2 separate regions of the Homo sapiens genome follow, and region 2 is linked to region 1. Evidence: promoter capture Hi-C in human tissues and cell types (Jung and others, 2019). All regions are on one chromosome and are shown on one strand. The core of a region is centred on a gene start or on the middle of the fragment in contact, and the rest is flanking DNA. Distances in the headings are between cores, read along the strand shown.

Region 1 (4,277 bases), core at 1,337-3,836:
CCACGTGGGGCTGGAACCCAGTCCCAGCCCTGCTGTGTTCTAGCTGGTCCCGGGTTTGGACGCCAGCGAAGGAAGGCGCGCCCGCGCTCTCCATCGGGGGGACTCGAGGGCAGCGCCGTGCGGGGAACATCCCGGCCAGCCCCGGCCATTCGAGGGGACTTGCGTCCCAGAGGAATTGCCCTCATCTCTCCCACCAGCGCCGACAAGCTCAAACAATGGCGCGGACGCCCACCCTGGTGGCCTAACCAGGACCTGGCCCCGCTCAGCCGCCAGGCCTTCCGGGACAAGCCCCTTCCTGGCACTTTCTCTTGGAGCGCTTTGGGGAGAAGGGAGGGGGACTGGGCTCATTTGGAGGAGCAAAAGACAGCCCTCGCGGAAAAAGAAAGAAAAATCAGCAAAATCGCCTTAGCAGTTCAACCAAAGGTCAACAGCAGCGTTTCCCCAGCAGCTGACAGGTCAAATGGGCAGGAAACAACTGCGGGGAACAAAGCCCCCCGCTGTCCGGCAGGGGCGAACCCGGCTCCTCCGCACTGAACAGTTTTGTTGTGCTTTTTGGAGGGGAGAGGTTTCCGCCCCCTTTCCAGCTCCCTTCCTCCCGGGTGGACAGGTCGGAAGAGGAGCGGAAAGGAAAGGAAGGGAGGGAGGCGGCGAAGGCGCCTGCGGGGGGGAGGAGCGGCTCTTTGATGGGTGTGGGGGGGTCTGAACTGCCTACCGGGCTCGGAAGCGCAGACCCTACCCGCGCGGAAGAATGCGCGGAATGCGGCGGCGGGAGGCGGAGGCGCAGCGCGGCGGGGGGCGCCCGGACCCCACGCGCCCTGCCCGCTCCCTAGCCCGAGGGCCGCGGACCCACCCTGCCCTGCAGGTGTGGCGGGCGCCAGGTCCCTCCAGGGACTCGGACAGCACGCGATTTTTCCAGGATTTCCGACTACCAAATGTGACAAGACAGTCTCGCCGCCGAGAGTTTCGCCAGGGCTCGCTAAAATCCGGCACGCGCCGCCATCAGATAGTCGAAAATCCGGGCTGAACAAAAGGTGATCATTCTCCGCTGCCCGGATTTGCAGGCGCTAGAGGACCGGTTCCGCCCGGCGTCCCCCAGATACCCAGTCCTTCAGCCTCCCGCTCCCAGAGCCTGGATCTAGCCCGGGACGGGGATTGGCCACCTTCCAAGCTGAGCTTGGAGTTGGGCAGCGGGAACGCAGATACAGATCGCTCTACACAGTGTGTGCAACCCAATCTCCCTTTCTGCATTTGCCAGGGTCTTGTTTTCAGTGAAACTGGCAAGGCCAATTGTACCTCGGCGCCCACCCCTCTTCACCTTTTCTCCACCTCTGGGATTCTCCCGGTCCGGCTCAGTGTAGGGCCCCAGCACGCCAAACCAACAGGCCTATCTTGTCCCCACGCGCCCCGTGGTACTTGGAAACTGTTCCCGGGACTCAAGATGGACCGCGCAGAGGAGTCGCTTCATCCTCGAGGCTAGGACCGTTAATGTCAATAAACGGGGCCTCGCTAGGACGGTGCGGAATTGCAGGTGACCGGAGAAACCCGTCCGCACTTTCCCTGAGGACTTGAACCTCGCACTTGCACAGAAACCTTGCAAACCCCTACACACCAACACACACAAAGGGGCGCGCGGGGATCCCCGCAACCACGAATCACGCCGGGGACTCCTTCCCGTGCCAATAAGGCGCAGGCCGCCAAGACCCCCTCCATCTCCCCGACTCCAGCTAGCGCCCGGAGCCCTCGTTTACCTTTGAGCAGGCAGATGTCGGTGCGCTCGGCGTTGCGGCGCAGCGCCTGCACCACCAGCGACACGGTGCTGTCCTCGCGGAGGCTCTCGGCGCGCGGGCTGCGCTCGTCGTAGACGATGACCGCCGAGTAGAGGCCGGAGCGCAAGCGGGCGCGTACCTCCTCCTCGGCGGGCAGGATCTGCTCCAGGCTCACGGAGCCCTTAGCCCGCCGCCGCACGATGGTGTTACAGCGCACGTTGACCGAACCTAGGATGTAGCCCGCGCTGTGCGCCAGGAACGGTCTGCAGTCCAGCAGCAGGCACTTGCCGCCGCTCGGCAGCCCCAGGGTGCCGTGGCTGCCGCTGCCGCCCGCGCCGCCGCCATTCTCGTCCCGGTTCATCAGCCTTTTGAGCACACTGCAGTCCATCTCCCGCAGCTCCTCCATCGTCACCATGGTCGCCGGGAACCGAGGCGGCTGGGCGCGCGAGGAAGAGAAGAGAACCCGGGCCGCCTAGGCTGCAGAAAGGGGCGGGCGAGAGCTAAGAAGGGACGCCTGCAGAAGTGGCCGCAAACTTGGTCCTCAAGGGCTCCCGCGGGAGAGCCTCTTCTTCCCTGTCCCCTTCCTCCCGCAGCCTCGCGGTCACATAGCAGTCGGAGCGGCCTCGGGCGCCCAGCCGGGCGGCGCGCAGAGCGGAGGGGGAGGCGCCGGTGGAGGAGAGTGTGTTTACGAGAGAGGACCGCGGACTCTTTTCGGCGACGGCCTCCCGTGTATTTTTGCCGGTCGCGCGGCTCCTGTCGCCACTGGCGCCAGCGCTGCCCTGCCTACGCTCCTCCGGCGCTCAGCGCACTGCCCCAGCCAGAGTTTTCTCCTCGGCTTAGAGGTTTATTAATGCTCCTCCGCGCTCCCGGGGGAGGGGGCGCTAGGTACTACCCCGCCAGGCCCCGCCCCGTTCCATTCCGGGCCCCGCGCCGTCCCCCGCCCCCCGCGCTGTCCCCCGCCCCCCGCGCTGACTCCCCGCCCCCTCCGGGCCCCTCCTCCCACCCCCTCCCCGGAGCTTGAATGGAGCGCGGCCGCTGGCTCCCGGTCACGGGAACTCGACGTCACAAAGAGCGGAGTAAACAGGGCGCCGGGTGCTCGCCATCAGGCCCATTCATAAAACCGAGGCCGAGAGGAAGAGGGAGGCGGCCTCCGACCCGCCGCCAGCGGCGGGCAGCGCCCGGACTTTGTGAATGGAGCGCGCGGCGCCTTTCGCCGTCTACCCGCGGGCCCAGCCTGCGCCGCGCCTCCAGCCCGACACCGGCACCTGTGCCGCCGCTGCACCCCGCCGCTAGGCGGGCGGCGCCAAAGGAAATAGCCGGCTGAGGAGGCCAGGGCTCGGGTTTGAGCTTTCATCCCTTGGCACCTTCGCGCTTCCCCGCGTGACAGCCCCGTAGGTTTTTCCCGGTTACCCAAGTGGAGAGGGGACCGGAGCGCTGCTGCCCACCCAGCGGGGCCTGACACCTCCTAGCCCCAGACTCCCCGTGCGCTTTCGGCCCGGCCAGTCCTTTCTGAATATGCGATTCCTGAGACGTTAGCGTATGCATTAGCGTGATCGATTTTCATCTAAAGCCATTAAATCAGTTTTATAGCTTCCCCAAGAACGTGGGCAACCCCCTGCTTGGAAGATGAAAGAGAAAGTCCTCCCGCCCGAAGCCCAGGATCGGAGTGAGGTGTGGGGTTTGTTGCTTTACTACCCAAAGGGAGGCATTAATTGCCGGAATGGTGTTCCGAGGGAGGAGAGCAGGCTGCGCTCCTGTCCACGCTTCCTAAAAGATGTTTATTTAACCCTGGTCGGGGGAAAAACAAGGTTTTCGGGTTTGGGAAACGTCTTCACCCTATCTTGCATAGTTGTGAATTATCCTTTCAGGAAATGACAGGGTCCACATTTGTTGCGGAGCTGGACCCTGGAAAATGTACCCGCAAAGAATGACCTTTTGAAAGGACTTCAGCAGCTCTGGGTCCGATTCATGTTTCTGGGCATCCCTTTTTCCTGGTCACGTAGCAGCCCTCCCCATCCCCATTTCTCTTTTGCATTTAATTTCCCAGAGGCGGCTTTTGGCTGGGGGTTTGTGCACGCACGCGGTGGGGACCGTGCAGAAGCCAAAAATCATTCGCCCGACATCTTGCCAAGTCTTGTTAGTGAGAATTAATCACAGAGCAAGGGAGTTACAGGACTCGCTCGCAGTTTCGGAGGCTGCAGAGTAGCGTATTCCATTCCGGGGCGCGCGTGGAAGCCCGACCCAGGCAGCGAGGGCACCGGTACCCGCCGGGTCTCTCCCGCCCAAGCTCACCCTCTCCCCATGCCTTTGTTCCGGGCGGAGCGGCTTTCCCGAGCTCTCACCTCCGGTCCCGGGGGCCATCCCTGCACTCCCCGACCGGAGCTCGGCGGAGCCTCCACTTCCGAGACCTTCGACTGGCCTCGTCCCCCACTGGGCCCCGAATGCCTCGACCCCCGGGCCCTACTCGGATGAGCTGTAGGGGCACCGCTTGGGCAAGGTGATATTTCCTTT
Region 2 (4,018 bases), core at 489-2,988, 770 kb after region 1:
CAATCCTCCTGTCTCAGCCTCCCATGTAGCTGGGACTACAGTCATGAGCCACCATGCCTGGCTAATTTTCGTATTTCTTTTTAGAGATGAAGTTTTGCCATGTTACCCAGGCTGGTCTTGAACTCCTGGGCTCAAGTGATCCACCAGCCTTAGCCTCCCAAAGTGCTGGGATTACAGGCATGAGCCACCACACCCAACTGTTTTGTTTTTCTTTTCAAACAGGATTGGCTGAAATACCATCTTAAATTATTAAGTGTACACTTCAGTATTGTTATATACCCGCATAATTCTATACAGCAGATCTCTAGAACTTTTTCATCTCGCATGACAAACTCTACTCCCATTCCCCCTGCTCCCAGCCCCTGGCAGCCACCATTCTACTCTGTTTCTGTAAGTCTGACTCCTCTAGGTACCTCCTATGGAATCATATAGCGTTTGTTCTTCTGGGACTGGTTGATAAGCTGTATATTGTTTACTGATTCCCATCCCCTTTTATCTCAGGAGCCTTGAAACTACATTTACTCGATTCTCTTACCTCCAGGGTTCTGTGTTTCATCTACATATTGTGTTTTGTGTGTTTTGTTGTTTATTGTTTTTGGGGTTTTGTTTTTGTTTTTGTTTTTGTTTTTGTTTTTTTTGAGATGGACTCTCACTCTGTCGCCCAGGCTGGAGTGCCGTGGCTCCATCTTGGTTCACCACAACCTTGGCCTCCTGGGTTCAAGTGATTCTCCTGCCTCAGCCTCCCAAGTAGCTGGGATTACAGGCACCCGCCACCACGCCAGGCTAATTTTTTGTATTTTCAGTCGAGATGGGTTTTCGCCATGTTGGCCAGGCTGGTCTCCAACTCCTGAGCTCAAGTGATCCGCCCACCTCAGCCTCCCAAGGTGCTGGGATTACAGGTGTGAGCCATCACGCCCAGCCTAGATATTGTTAATAAAATAAACTCATGAGATGACTTGGAAACCTGAAGGAAAGCAAAAGACATCCTTCCTCTGCCAGCAGTGGTATGTGGGCTTTGGTGTGTTTTTTCTGGGGCTGACAAGACTCTATTGCACTGCTTTTTACCCAATGCAGGGATGTGTGATTCTGGCAGTGGTTTCTTGGCCTCTGGATGGCAGTAGAAATGTCCTGGCCTCTGGATTAGGGGTGTGGGGTCTAACAGGAAAGCTGGTGGAGAGCTCCTTACCTTCTGCTCCCCTAAGCATTCCAGTGATTTCTTTTTTGTTTTCTTTTTATCTTTAAAAAAAAATTAGGCTGGCACAGTGGCTCACCCCTGTAATCCTAGCACTTTGGGAGGCCAAGGTGGGCAAATCACTTGAAGTCAGGAGTTCGAGACCAGCCTGGCCAACATGGTAAAACCCCATCTCTACTAAAAATACAAAAAATTAGCTGTACGTGGTGGCACGCGCCTGTAATCCCAGCTACTCAAGAGGCTGAGGCAGGAGAATCGCTTGAACCCGGGAGGCCGAGGTTTCAGTGAGCCGAGATCATGCCACTGCACTCCAGCCTGGGCAACAGAGCGAGACTCCCTCTCAAAAAAAAAAAAAAATTAACTTTAGGTGTCAAGGTAATTCAATGTGGAAAGAATCACCTCTTCCAGATGATTCTGCTGGGATAACTAGATATCCACATGCAAAGGAATGAAATTGGACCCCTACTTCACTCTATATTCAAAAATCACTCAAAATTTTTATGTAGAGTCAGGGTGTCACTATGTTGACCAGGCTAGTCTCAAACTCCTGTCCTCAAGCAATCCTCCCACCTCAGCCTCCCAAAGTACTGGGATTATTGGCCTGTACCACTTCACCCAGTCTAGTATTTTCATATAAACTTTAGAGTTAGTTTGTCAATTTCTATTTTTAGAAACTTTTGGGAGGGCCAGGCATGGTGGCTCACGCCTGTAATCCCAACACTTTGGGAGGCCAAGGCAGGTGGATCACTTGAAGTCAGGAGTTCAAAACCAGCCTGGCCAACATGGTGAAACTCCGTCTCTACTTAAAATACAAAAAAAATTTAGCCAGGTGTGGTGGTGCATGCCTGTAATCCCAGCTACTCGGGAGACTGCGGCAGGAGAATCCCTTGAACCTAGGAGGTGGAGGTTGCAGTGAGCTGAGATCGCGCCACTGCACTGCAGCATGGGCAACAATGCAAGACTCTCTCCCAAAAAAACTTTTGGGAGTTTAATTGGGATTGCATTGAAGCTATAGATCAATTTGGGGAGAATGAATCTTAACAATTGTAACAGTTACCTATTGCAGCATAGCAAACCACCCAAAACCTATTGACTTAAACCAATAATCATTGGTTCAGCTCACAAATCTGTAATTTGGTCCTGTCTTAACAGTACGTGTTTGTCTGCTCCACATGGTGTCAGCTGGGGGTTGGTGGATCATCTCCCAAGATGGTTCACTTACATAGCTGGCAATTGGTGCTGGATGTCTAAATGGGAGCTCAGCTAGTATGAAGGCCAGGGGTCTCTGCTCCTCTCCATATAAAACTCTGCCTCTCCATGGCAATGTGGCTTTCTTACATCCATTCCAAGAGTGTGAATCATCCCAAGAAAACCAGTCAGAAGTGTATGGATATTTTATGACCTACCTTAGAAGTCACGAAGCATCACTTCTGCCATACTCTAGTGGTCAACCCAGTTGTGTAAATGTCCCCCCAGGTTCAAGGGGAATGACCGTAGACCATTCAATGGGAAGAGTGTTAATGTTACATTGTAAGAAAAGCATATGGGAGGGAATATATTATGGTGTCCATCTTTGGAAAATGCAATCTGCCACAACAATATTGAGTATTTCAATCAATGAACATGATATATCTCTCAATTTATTGAGGTTTGCAACATCTCTCAGCAGTGTTTCATAGTTTTCCAAGTACAAGTCTTGCAGTCATTTTACTACATTTATTCCTAAATATGTCAGGTTTTCTCATGTCATACTAGCATTCCTCTGTTTCGCTCCGTCTCTCTCTCACTCACACACACATACATATACACACATACAAACCTCAAGTATGAAGTATGTTTGCATGGTTCCCATGTCTATACTTATTCCTGCTTAGGAAGCTCTATCCAGACCTATCATTTATTCATTTAGTCAAACAATAAATAACATAATTTCAATCAATGAAAAGTAAATGAACCAAATAGAGCAGAGTGAGGAGATGGGAATGATGGCATGGGAATGGGATTTATTTTAGACAAGGTGTTCCTCTCTGGCAAGATGTCATTTGAACAGAGACATGAATGATGTAAAGGAGCAGCATCTCTATCCACAGAGACCTGGGTAAGAACATTCTGGATAGAAGGACAAGCAATTTCAAAGGCTCAAAGGGAGGAATAGGCTTTTTTTTTTTTTTTCCAGAAGATAGCAAGGCCATTGTACCTGGAGTGCAGTGAAGAAGAAACTACCAAAACACAAAGTTGGTGAGATTGTTAGTCTTATACTAACTGTCTTTTATAACCTAATCTCAGAGGTGACATACCATCACTTCTGTCATGTAATATTCATCACACAGACCAACCTTGATTCAATGTGGGATGAAGAAAATGCCAGAAGAGGGGATGGGTCACTGGGGCCACAATGATTTTTTGCAGTTTTTGATCTTTTCATTAGGAATTGGGGAATGGAAATTCCTGTATCTGACTTCCTTCTTCCTTATCTACCCAGTAGTCTCTTGCACACTTGTTTTCATATAAATTTTCAAACCTATAAAAAATAGAATATATTGAACTCCCAATCAACCAGTTTCAACAATTCTGAACACATGGCTGTTCTGTTTCGTCCATGTATTCTCCATTCTCTCTAACTCAGATTATTTTAAAGCAATCCAAGATTAAATATCATTTAATCTGTGAATATCTCTAAAATGTGACCCTTCCTTATTCTTAAGAAAAACCACAGTATGATTATTACACCTGAAAAAGTTAACAATAAAGCTTTACTATCCAATTAGTGTTTAAATTTCCCTATAATATTCTTTCAAAGTCGGTTCATTTGAATCAAGATCTAAA

Evidence for each region. The method cuts DNA at HindIII sites, captures the fragments that hold promoters and counts their contacts. A contact is called where the count stands out against the background at its distance.
Region 2: a contact is called between a fragment that was not itself captured here and the fragment with the promoter of DUSP4 in region 1, in 1 of the 25 tissues and cell types used here (spleen).

The regions. Positions count from the first base shown.
Region 1 is chr8:29,348,098-29,352,374 of GRCh38, forward strand. It overlaps DUSP4 (dual specificity phosphatase 4), which reads right to left and starts at 2,587. Exons shown (of 4, transcript NM_001394.7): 1 at 1,749-2,587. The coding sequence starts at 2,181. LOC124901924 (a long non-coding RNA gene) reads left to right here and starts at 2,877. Exons shown (of 2, transcript XR_007060876.1): 1 at 2,877-3,437. RefSeq lists silencers at 705-874, 2,445-2,764, 2,955-3,094 and enhancers at 1,585-2,086, 1,615-1,764, 2,087-2,586, 3,285-3,354, 3,395-3,504. The HindIII fragment of the contact is 25,056 bases long and covers 1-4,277 here.
Region 2 is chr8:30,120,633-30,124,650 of GRCh38, forward strand. It overlaps a transcript of LEPROTL1 not described here. Among named protein-coding and RNA genes, the nearest start is that of MBOAT4, 22 kb to the right of the region's middle. The HindIII fragment of the contact is 9,935 bases long and covers 1-4,018 here.